Linked DNA regions of Homo sapiens: region 2 is linked to region 1. Evidence: promoter capture Hi-C in 16 types of primary human blood cells and fetal thymus (Javierre and others, 2016). All regions are on one chromosome and are shown on one strand. Each heading gives the region's core, a stretch centred on a gene start or on the middle of the fragment in contact. The rest is flanking DNA. Distances are from core to core; before and after follow the strand shown. Region 1 holds the start of TNIP1 (TNFAIP3 interacting protein 1). Region 2 holds the start of TCOF1 (treacle ribosome biogenesis factor 1).

What was found. The method cuts DNA at HindIII sites, captures the fragments that hold promoters and counts their contacts. A CHiCAGO score of 5 or more calls a contact.
Region 2: a contact is called between the fragment with the promoter of TCOF1 here and a fragment that was not itself captured in region 1, in 1 of 17 cell types (naive CD8 T cells). The highest score is 5.2, in naive CD8 T cells.

Annotation. Positions count from the first base shown.
Region 1 is chr5:151,077,706-151,082,682 of GRCh38, reverse strand. It overlaps TNIP1 (TNFAIP3 interacting protein 1), which reads left to right and starts at 1,649. Exons shown (of 18, transcript NM_006058.5): 1 at 1,649-1,803. RefSeq lists enhancers at 1,055-1,114, 829-1,539, cis regulatory regions at 1,080-1,849, 1,349-2,137 and silencers at 1,415-2,084, 3,770-3,819. The HindIII fragment of the contact is 3,115 bases long and covers 807-3,921 here.
Region 2 is chr5:150,354,391-150,359,012 of GRCh38, reverse strand. It overlaps TCOF1 (treacle ribosome biogenesis factor 1), which reads right to left and starts at 1,316. Exons shown (of 27, transcript NM_001371623.1): 1 at 1,159-1,316. The coding sequence starts at 1,266. LOC105378226 (a long non-coding RNA gene) reads left to right here and starts at 1,593. Exons shown (of 4, transcript XR_944407.3): 1 at 1,593-2,507; 2 at 3,343-3,445; 3 at 3,850-4,038. RefSeq lists silencers at 889-1,108, 1,189-1,528 and an enhancer at 2,129-2,298. The HindIII fragment of the contact is 5,465 bases long and covers 1-3,981 here.

The DNA of each region.
Region 1 (4,977 bases), core at 1,115-3,614:
CCCGGCTAAGGCCAGACATGCTATAAAAACAGCTGAAATAGTGTGGAAACAAAATGCAAGTAATTAGAGACCAGCCATTTTTAGGTAGATTTTAGTTTTCAGTGGGTAGAGGGTGGGGGTGGAGAAGATGTGGGTTGGGAATAGGAAGAGAGCCCTGCAGGAAGAGAATTGGGAAGTACAGGCACAAAGAGCAGGAAGAAAACTGGCAGGTGCGGACCTGATGGGTGGAGACGATGCCTGGGAGCTGCTATGTAAACCAGGGCCAGGATTCCCAGTTTCTCTGTAGGATCCCCCAGTGGTGAGACTCAGTGGTGCTTTGGAGTTTGCATCGCTTCCTCCCTCCCTCCCTTCTGAATCAAGGCATAAGTGTAATTCTTTTCATAATTAAACTAGAATGAATATCGTTTTGAAGATCTGATAACACCGTTGAATTAACTGAAGGAACCCTAGGAGGTTACAAAGCCTTATAGGAGAATCCCCAGATTAGGTATATAATTTGGGCAAGTATCTGTGTGTGTATTATTGCGAAGTCACAGTTGATTGATGGGTCTCTCTTCTGTAAAATGAGGGTGTGTATTAAACAGTTCCCCAAATCCTTTCCCCTAATTCTTTTTGAGGATGAGGGCCTGTCAATGACTAAGTTTTCAACAGTACCAGTGAAATGGGTCTTTTGCAATAGGTTTTTCATAAAGCTATATTTAGTTTAAAGAGCTGTTCTTTATTCCAAGGTTAGACCTTCCACTTTTTGGAATTAAAATTTAGCTTTCTTTCTTTTTAAAAATAAAAGGATAAGCTTTTAAAAAGCTTTCCTACCCTTAAAGCAAGTTTATGTTCCTTACCGGTCTAGGAAATCCCAGTCTGTTGGGATTATCTAGCCCACATATAAGTAGGTAGGGTGGAAGGCGGCCTCTGGATTTGCCCACCCGGGTTTGAATCTTGATTCAGCCCCTTACTGAGGTCATCTAACCTTTTTGTGACTCAAATATTATTTAAGAAAAGGTAGTAAAACCCACCTCCCTAGCGTGATTGTGCGAAGAAAATAATGCACGCAAAGCATCTACAATGTCTGGAGCAAAGCGTTTACGATGTCTGGGAATCCTTTACAATGTCTGGAGCAAAAAATGTTCGCGGTAGAGTCTTTATGGGTCTTTTCAGCTCGGAATTTCTATAGCTTTGTTAAGAAGAGTCCTGGAGTGCCCTGGACGGAACTCTGGGGGCCTGAGCTCCAGCTCTGGCTTAGGGCCAAATGCTTACGTGCCTTTTGGCAGGTCCCCTCCCTGTTCTGGCCTGTGTTCCCCTCGGCACAAGGAAGGGGCTGGGTGGTCTCTGTGGCTCGCCTCCGCTCTGAAATTCCGGCTTTCAAGGTGGCCCCAGGCCTTCGACAGGGGCTTCCGGCGCTGGGAGTGCGGCAAGGCGCCGCGCAGGCCCGGGACGGTGGCCCCAGGGAAGTCGCTCCTAGAGGGGAAGGCCGCCGAAGGGACGAGAGACACCGCGGGCCCCCGGAACCGCAGGCAGCCGGTGTTTACCTCGCTCGGTCCCACCCCAGGCGGCCGCGGGCCCGCCCGGAGCGCGCGGCGCGATTGGGCGAGTGGCCTGCCAGTCTCCGGGGACTTTCCCAGGGGTGGGGCGGCCCGGCCAGGCCCCCGGCACTTCCTCGTCCTCGGCCCGGGTGCCCTGCCCCCGTCCAGGAGCCCTAGGAGTGCTACGGGGGGCCGGAGCCTTGCCCGGGCCGCTGCCCCGTCCCTGGATTCGGGGCTGGACGCAGCAAGCGGGGCGCTGTGTCCCCAAGCTCCCCGTCCTCGGGTAAGCCGGCCGGCCCGGAGCGGGGATGGAGGGGAGGAAGGGAGGCCAGGCCCAGATCGTCCAGAGCCTCGGTGGCGGCGGGGAGCGAGCTGGGGAAGGTGGCTTGTGCACCCAGGCCCGGCGCGCGGGGTCCCGGGGCGTCTCCGCCAGCGGCCAAGCCGGGCTGAGCCGCTACTCCCTGCTTGGCGCTGGGCCTGGTGGGGGGCGCGCGTGCGCACTGCGCGGGGTAGCACGCCTGGGAACGGCGTGGGGCGGTTGTAGAGAGCGCAGACCCTCCGGGTGCGGGCGGCGCTGCGGCCCTTTGGGTGTCTATCCTGTGGAGACGAGTTGCCTACGCGGCGTCAGGAGTTTTCGTATCAAGTTGTGGAAGCAGTGTACATATGTCACGAGGAGGAAAATAATAATTTTTATTGGGCGCTTTCCAAGTGCTGATCTTAACGCTGTACGTGTATTAGACTCATTTAATTGTCACTTCCATCCTAAACATTAATATTGTTATTATCTCCATTTTATACTTTAGGAAACCGAGGTACTTGGAGCTTGAGGTCACACAGCTGTGAGTTGCAAAGTCAGATATGAACTCAGGCATTTGGCTCCAGAGTTCCTACTATACTATTTCTGTTGAACATATTTTGTATGCACATTGTTGGAGGCATTTGTGTGCATGTGCAGGATGGATGAGTTTCCAGGAGTGCTTCTGGGGATGGAGTATGAAGGCTGAGCTTTCCACTGTAGGACATTTGTGTGCACGTGTGCATTGTACATTCATTGTGCGTACAGGAGCAGATGGGAATTTTGTGCGACTGGGTGAGAGATTGTGTTTTGGTAGGGGGAGGGAGGGACTTTTGTGGATGATGCAGAAGAATCAGCAACGTCCTTCCCCACCCCCTTGCAGAATGACAGTGCAGGGAAATGTGTAGATTCCTAATGCATCATTTTTTTCTCACAGTACGGTCAAAATGGGATTTAATCAGCACTTACTCATTTTCCAAACAATGGGGTGTGATAGAGGGGAATTCGGCATCTGATGAGAGGTCAGAAAAGGGGACTCAGAATGTTTTAAAAAAATCCTTGACAAAGGAGGGTAGAATTGTATTAGGAGGGTAGAATATTAGTACAAACTCAGCATCCCCGTGGTGGTCTCTGTTTTGCAACAGAAGAAACTGAGGCAGTGAAAAAACTGATAATGCTAATAGCTTACTATGTGCCAGGCACAGTGCTTACATTCCGTATCTCATTTAATCTTTTTTTTTTTTTTGAGACAGAGTCTCACTCTGTTACCCAGGCTGGAGTGCAGTGGCACGATCTCGGCTCACGGCAACTTGCCTCCCAGGTTCAAGCGATTCTCCTACCTCAGCCTCCCGAGTAGCTGGGATTACAGGCACTCGCCACCATCCCCGGCTAATTTTTTTGTATTTTGAGTAGAGACAGTTTCACCATGTTGGCCAGGCTGGTCTCAAACTCCTGACCTCAAGTGATCCGCCCGTCTCAGCCTCCTAAAGTGCTGGGATCACAGGTGTGAGCCGCCCCGCCCGGCCTCACTTAATCTTTCTAACAACTCTTAATTTTCAGATGAGGAAACTGAGGCCCAGAGAAGGTTAAGGCTTTCCCAAGACTAGCAACGCTTGAATCCTGGACCCTGTTCCCTTTCCCCTGACCAAGGCTGCTGTCCTGGCTGTGTCCCGGGAAAATAATGTGATCAGGGACTGGCACTTCATGGAAGCACGTGATCATGCCCCTCTGGAAGCTGCCGCTGGGAGTGTGCAGTGTTCTACACGCTTATGTAACCACGTTTGTCTCCCAGCCTTGGGTGTTCCATGGGTATGGCATGGCACTCATGCTGAAGGTTGATGCCTGCCCCTGGATACCCCCACCAGTTTTTTCGGGGCCCCAGGAAGCTGTGGGGTCTGAGTCATACCCTTACCCCCAGTGCTGCCTGTGACTTGGGGCCCGGATGTCCTGGTTGGGTCAGGCCGACCTGATTTGAGAGAGGCAGCGTTGTAGGAGGTTGTTTGTCTGCCTCTCTCTCCAACCCACTGGTTACTGTTTTACTCCTGTACCCGCTGTGATTTGGTCACACCATGCTGGCCTGCTTTTCCCCCTCCAGCAAGCCAAGCTTGTTCTCATCCTTAGGCTTTCATACATGCTGTTCCCTCTGCCCAGGACATCTTTCCCCGTTTTTCCCATGGCTGGTTTTTCCTTATCGATCAAGTCTCAGCTCAAATGTCAGCTCCTCAGAGGGGCCTTCCCTGATCTTTTTATGCAAAGCAGCCCCTTTTTTCACTTTCTGTCACGTTACTATTTTATTTTTCTCATACGTGTATCATGCTATGAAAGAATCTTATTTGCGAATGAGAAAGCATATGTATAGAACTTAGTGTCTGGCAAATTGTTATTTTTAGTGTTTATTTGTTTACTGTCTTTCTCTTTTCCTAGAATAGAAGGGGGTGAGCAGGGACCTCCTTAGTCCTCTCGAGTGTATTTCTGTAGCGGGAGAAGAGTGCCTGGTGGATGGCTCTTCTGAGTTTGTTCAGTGAATGAGTAGAATAATGGCACATTTCACAAATGAGGAAATTAAGGCCTAGAGATGAGAAGGCAGGAGGAGAACCAGAGTGCTCTCCTAGCGCTCTCCCAAGCATCATTTCCTGATGACTCCTGTGCCCAGTGCCATGCAGTGTTCTTGATGCACAGGTGCGTAAGGAGCTGGCTTTGCCTTCCAGGAACTTTTGGTCAAATGGGGAGATGTGCTATGAGTGTGACCTGAAAGGCATTGTGTGCCAGTAAGTGCCAAATGAGTCGGATTGGCATAGGTATAACTGGAGTGCAGAGTAATTTGGGGGCACCAGATGGTTGGAGGGGTCTTCTGGAGGGAAGTGACTTCAAGGTCAGACCCTAAAAAAATGACAAAGTGCAGAGTGGAACCTGGGTCTCTTCTGGAACTTAGTAGACTAGTCACAATAACTGGAATCAGCCTCTCCTCGGTTGGGAGAATTGACCAGTTGGCCTGGGAAAGACCCTAAAAGATTTTGATACCAGACATAGAAATGTTGATTTTTCTCCTTAGCAGCATTGGGAAATGGTCAGAGCAGTTGGTTCACAAACATGAGCATGCATCACAATCCTGGGGATGGAGGTAGAGGGTGGTTGTTAAACACAGATTGCTGGGCTGCAACT
Region 2 (4,622 bases), core at 67-2,566, 720 kb after region 1:
CCAGGCTGGAGTGCAGTGGCATGATCATGGCTCATACTGTATCCTCAAATTCCTGGGCTCAAGAGAGTGGACTTTCTCCAGGCCAGTGTGTACACAAGTTCCCTCCCACCACAAGGCATTTACACCTCAGCTATTCCTGACCAGGGCAATCTGCCATCCATCTCTCTTTTTTTTTTGAGGCAGAGTCTCGCTTTATCGCCCAGGCTGGAGTGCAGTGGCACGATCTTGACTCATTGCAACCTCTGCCTCCCGGGTTCAAGCAATTCTTGTGCCTCAGCCACATGAGTAGCCAGGATTACAGGCGTGCGCCAACATGCCCAGCTAATTTTTGTATTTTTAGTAGAAACGGTGTTTCACCATGTTGGCCAGGCTGGTCTCGAACTTCTGACCTCAGGTGATCCGCTAGTCTCGGCCTCCCTAAGTGCTGGGATTACAGGCGTGAGCTACCGTGCCCGGCCCATCCCTCTCATTCTTAACACTTATTGCGGTGCTAAGCATATAGTCACTTTTGTGATTCTTTGATTTGTCTACCTTACTAGAGTGTAAGCTCCAGGAGGGCTGAGAGATGGTGCTCACCATTCGAACACCAGGAAGCACCCTGAGTACCGGATTAACAGTTGAATTAATCAAGTAAGAAATGACTGTACCACGAGTTCGAGTACCAAAGCTGACCGTCTCAGTACAGACAATCGCTAAAGGCCTGAGTTCCAGCTCAACTAAGAGGCTGTAGGGTCCCTTTTCCAGGCGCTCCCCCGAGGGGCTGGTCGCAATCCACCCCCGAGACTCGCAGCAACCTCCTTGCCCCAGGGGGGGCCGCGCAGAGCCTAGCCACGTGGCGGGAGACTTAGGAAACTTAAAATACCCGCTACCAGGAAGGGCGTGGAGGTAAGGGAAGCGGGAATTACAAAGTTCGGCCCCTGCGAGCACACTTTCTGGCCCAACCCACTGCCCGGATGAGGAAAGTGAGGCCCAGGGGAACTGAAGTCGCAGTGGGAAGGCAGAGATTGCGGCTCCTCCGGTACCCCTGGCCGCGCCGTCGAGCACTGCGGGACCCGGCTCCGGGCGCCTGCCGGGTCGCCTGGGGACGGGGCGCGGGCCGCGGGCCGCTGATCTCCACATCTTGCACGCGGCCCTCGCACACGGCCCACGAACGCTTACCTGGCCGCTCTGCTCCTTCACTTCCCGCGCCGCACGCACATAGCCAGCCCGCAGCAGATGGTGGTAGATCAGGGGAAGTAGCTCCCGCCGCTTCCTGGCCTCGGCCATACCCGCGACCCCCGGCCGGCCGGCTACCTGCACGCCCCGCCTTAGTCCCCGCCCGCCACTTCCCTCGCGCCCTTAGACCTCGCGCGCCACACTTCCGGCTCCTCTTTCGCTCCGGCCGCGCGGCGCGCCGGGAAACGTAGTCCCCTCTCCGGGAGTGGCCGGCCCCGCCCCTCAAGGCGAAGGGGGCGGAGACTCGTGATCAACAATACCGCCCATTGGCGCGGAGCATGCGGGGCTAGACAGGGACCCGCCCCCGGGGCCGGCCGGGACTTGGACGACTCTCTTTTAATCCTTCCGGCTGGCTTCTTGAAGAGATTTATCTTCCTTGTTAATTCTCTGATGGCTGGGTCTGCGTTTTACTCATCTCTGAACTCCCTAATCTGGATCTTTCTCTAGATCCGAACTTTGTACTGCCATTACCTGCTCATTTATCCATTTCGCACGGTTTTTGGTGCCCATGAACCAGACACGAATTGCCAGTTTATTCATTGATTCATTCGCTAACTGAACAAATCTGTAATAAGCACCTAACTTGGGCTAGCACCCGGCTAGGCTAGGGGGATTCAAAAGATGCATAATACATGGCAGTTGCCCTCAAAGCTCACAGAGACGACTGTCCGTAACCAAGCAACTATAGTTCAATATCTTGTGTGCCTTGTCAGGGACAGATGCAGCCTATGGGCGCCCCAAGGAGGAGCACCGAACCCCAGAGAGATATCTAAGCTGAGGCATAAAGACACCCGAAATTGCTGGGTGCAAAGGAGAGGACTGGCAGAGGGCACTGCATGAGTCTAGGCATGAGAAAACACCCTGCTATTGCCTGGGAACCCTAAACCCAGAACCCCTAGTCTGCGCTGCTGGGCTGTCCAGGTGGGGTGGGGTGAGGTGGGGAAGAGGGAACAAATGAGGGCACATGAGGATGAAGAAGTAGACAAGGCCTACAACTCCCCCACCCCCAACAGAGTTTGGACTTTGCTCTGAGGGCATTAGATAGTCTCTGACTGGCTTTTCCGAGGAGGTTGACCCTGTTTTGTGTTTTTAAAAGATTGCTAAAACCAAAGCACATACCATTAATACTAAATGTGAGGCTGTTGTAGTTGTTGAGGGAAGGATGGCAGGGAAAAGGTGAGGTAGGCTGGAGAATGTTAGAGTGAGCTGTTCTTAACTTCACCGACCCATTGAGAATCTGAGGGCAGCATGTTTCTTACGGGCGCAGGAGTCCCTAACCCTAGGAGGTCCAGGTATGTGGTTATCTTTGTCTTGAACTTGAATGGAAAATGTTATGTGTCTGTACACATTCAACATTTCCCATTTTCTTGAGCAAATATTTATTGAGTACCTACCATTGGGGATGGAATAGTCTCTACTCCTATAGAGCTTACAGTCTAGTGATGGAATTGTCTCTACTCCAATAGAGCTTACAGTCTAACGGAGGAGACACATACTAAACTAATAGTCATACAATACAGTGTTACAAACAGCGGGTAAGTGCAGGAAGGAAAAGGATAGTGTTTTCTTATGTAATAATATAGTGTTTAAAAGCTGCACTGGAGTCACACTGCCTGGGTTCAAATTCTGGCTTTGCCTCATTAACTAGGTGACTTTGGGCAAGTCACTGTGACTCAGTTTCTTTATCTGTACAATGGAGATAATTATAATTTCTACCTCACTGGGTTGTCATAAGGAGTAAATGAATTCTCAGCAGAAATGCTTAGAGGAGCTCTGAACAATAGCGCTCTCTGTGTGCGTGTGTGCTATTATTGTGAAAGCATATAACAGGAAGGAGGGATCTATTTTTTTCTTGGGAGTTAGGGAAGGATTCCCTGAGAAATTAATGGTTATGAGGAAACCAGAACTGTGTGTAAGGGAGAGTCAGAGAGAAGAAACCTGAGCAGAGGGAAGAACCTGTGCAAAGGGCCTAGGGCAGAAGGTACAGCTGAGAGAATAGACACAAAAAGGCCTTTGTAGCATAGTCCGGAGGGAGAGCAGGGGGACTGGGGAGTGTAGAAGGTGGGCAGAGGGCAGACTCCATGTGAAGGATTGGCCACATCAGGGTTTTTTTTCCTCCATCCTAAGAGCCATTGGAAGCCACTGACGGTGTAAGCCCAAGAGGTACAGGATGAAATCTGAATTTTACTGTGACCTGTGTGCCTGCCCAGTGGAGAGTGGAGTGTGTCTGGTGGGTATGAGTAGATGTGGGAAGACAAGTCAGGGTTAGGAGTGCAGGCAGGCATCCAGGGAGAAGACAGTGTATGTGGGGGGGGGGGGCGGGTGGTAGGTGGCGGGGGCAGCGGGGAGGGTGCTGGTGGCAGTGGAGTTGAAGAGAGTGGAAGGTTCCCAGAGTTAATCAGGAACTAAAGTTTTCACAGAGGTGTGTTGGAATGGGAGGGGAAGGAAAAGGCAATGTCAGAATGGACCTTGAGGTTTCTGTGCAAACAAGTAGGCAGTATTTTTCACTGAGATAGAAAAAACTAGAAGAGGACTGAGACAGGGGGGTGGTTTGATTGAGGAGAGGAGGATGTGGACAGAGAGGTGAAAGTATATATTCTATGTTAGACATCTTGAGCTTGAAATGCCTTACAGTCACCACATGCAGATGTTGAGAAGGTTCTTGGAAACCTGGGTTTGGACGTGGCGTGGAGGTCTGGGCTAGAGATGAAGATGAGAAGTTGTCGATAGACAGATGATAATTGCGGCTGTGGATGAGGAGAAGCTTACCCAGGGAGAAGAATGTGGAGAGAGAAGAGAGATGGCCCAGGATGAAGTTTTGAGGTACATCTACAGATTAGGGCTGTGTACAAAAGGATCTGCCTGCAAAGGCTGATCAGGAGTGGCTGGACAGCTTGGAGAAAGCCCAGGAGAGTGGGCTTATGGAAGGAGGCCAAGGGAGACATTTTAGAAAGCTGGGAAGACTTGATGGAGGGAATGCTCTGAGAGGTCAGATAGGAGGAGGGTGCAGCCCTGGGCTTTGGTTTATGGACAGGCGTGGAGATTGTTGGGGACTTAGGGAGGGCTATTTATGTGTGGCATGATGGAGGGGGTCAGATGGCAGTGGTCTGATGAGTGCAGGAGGGATGAGGGAGGCAGTGGGTCTTTCGAGAAGTTTTTGTATAAAAAGGACGAGAAAGATAAAGTGCTAGGGCCAATATGTATGTTAGGGGAGGTGTGTTTCAAGGTAGAAGAAACCTGAGATTTGTTTAAAAGTGAATGGCAGATCCAGGAGAGAGAGGTTAACCAAGAGTGTAAGAAATAGGGGAGATAATCAGCGAGTAAAGTTCTCTCAAGCATGTGCGAGGGGCTGGGATCAGGCATGTGGGTTGGGGGGGTTCGTCTTGGGGAGGAGGAGGGATGAGTTC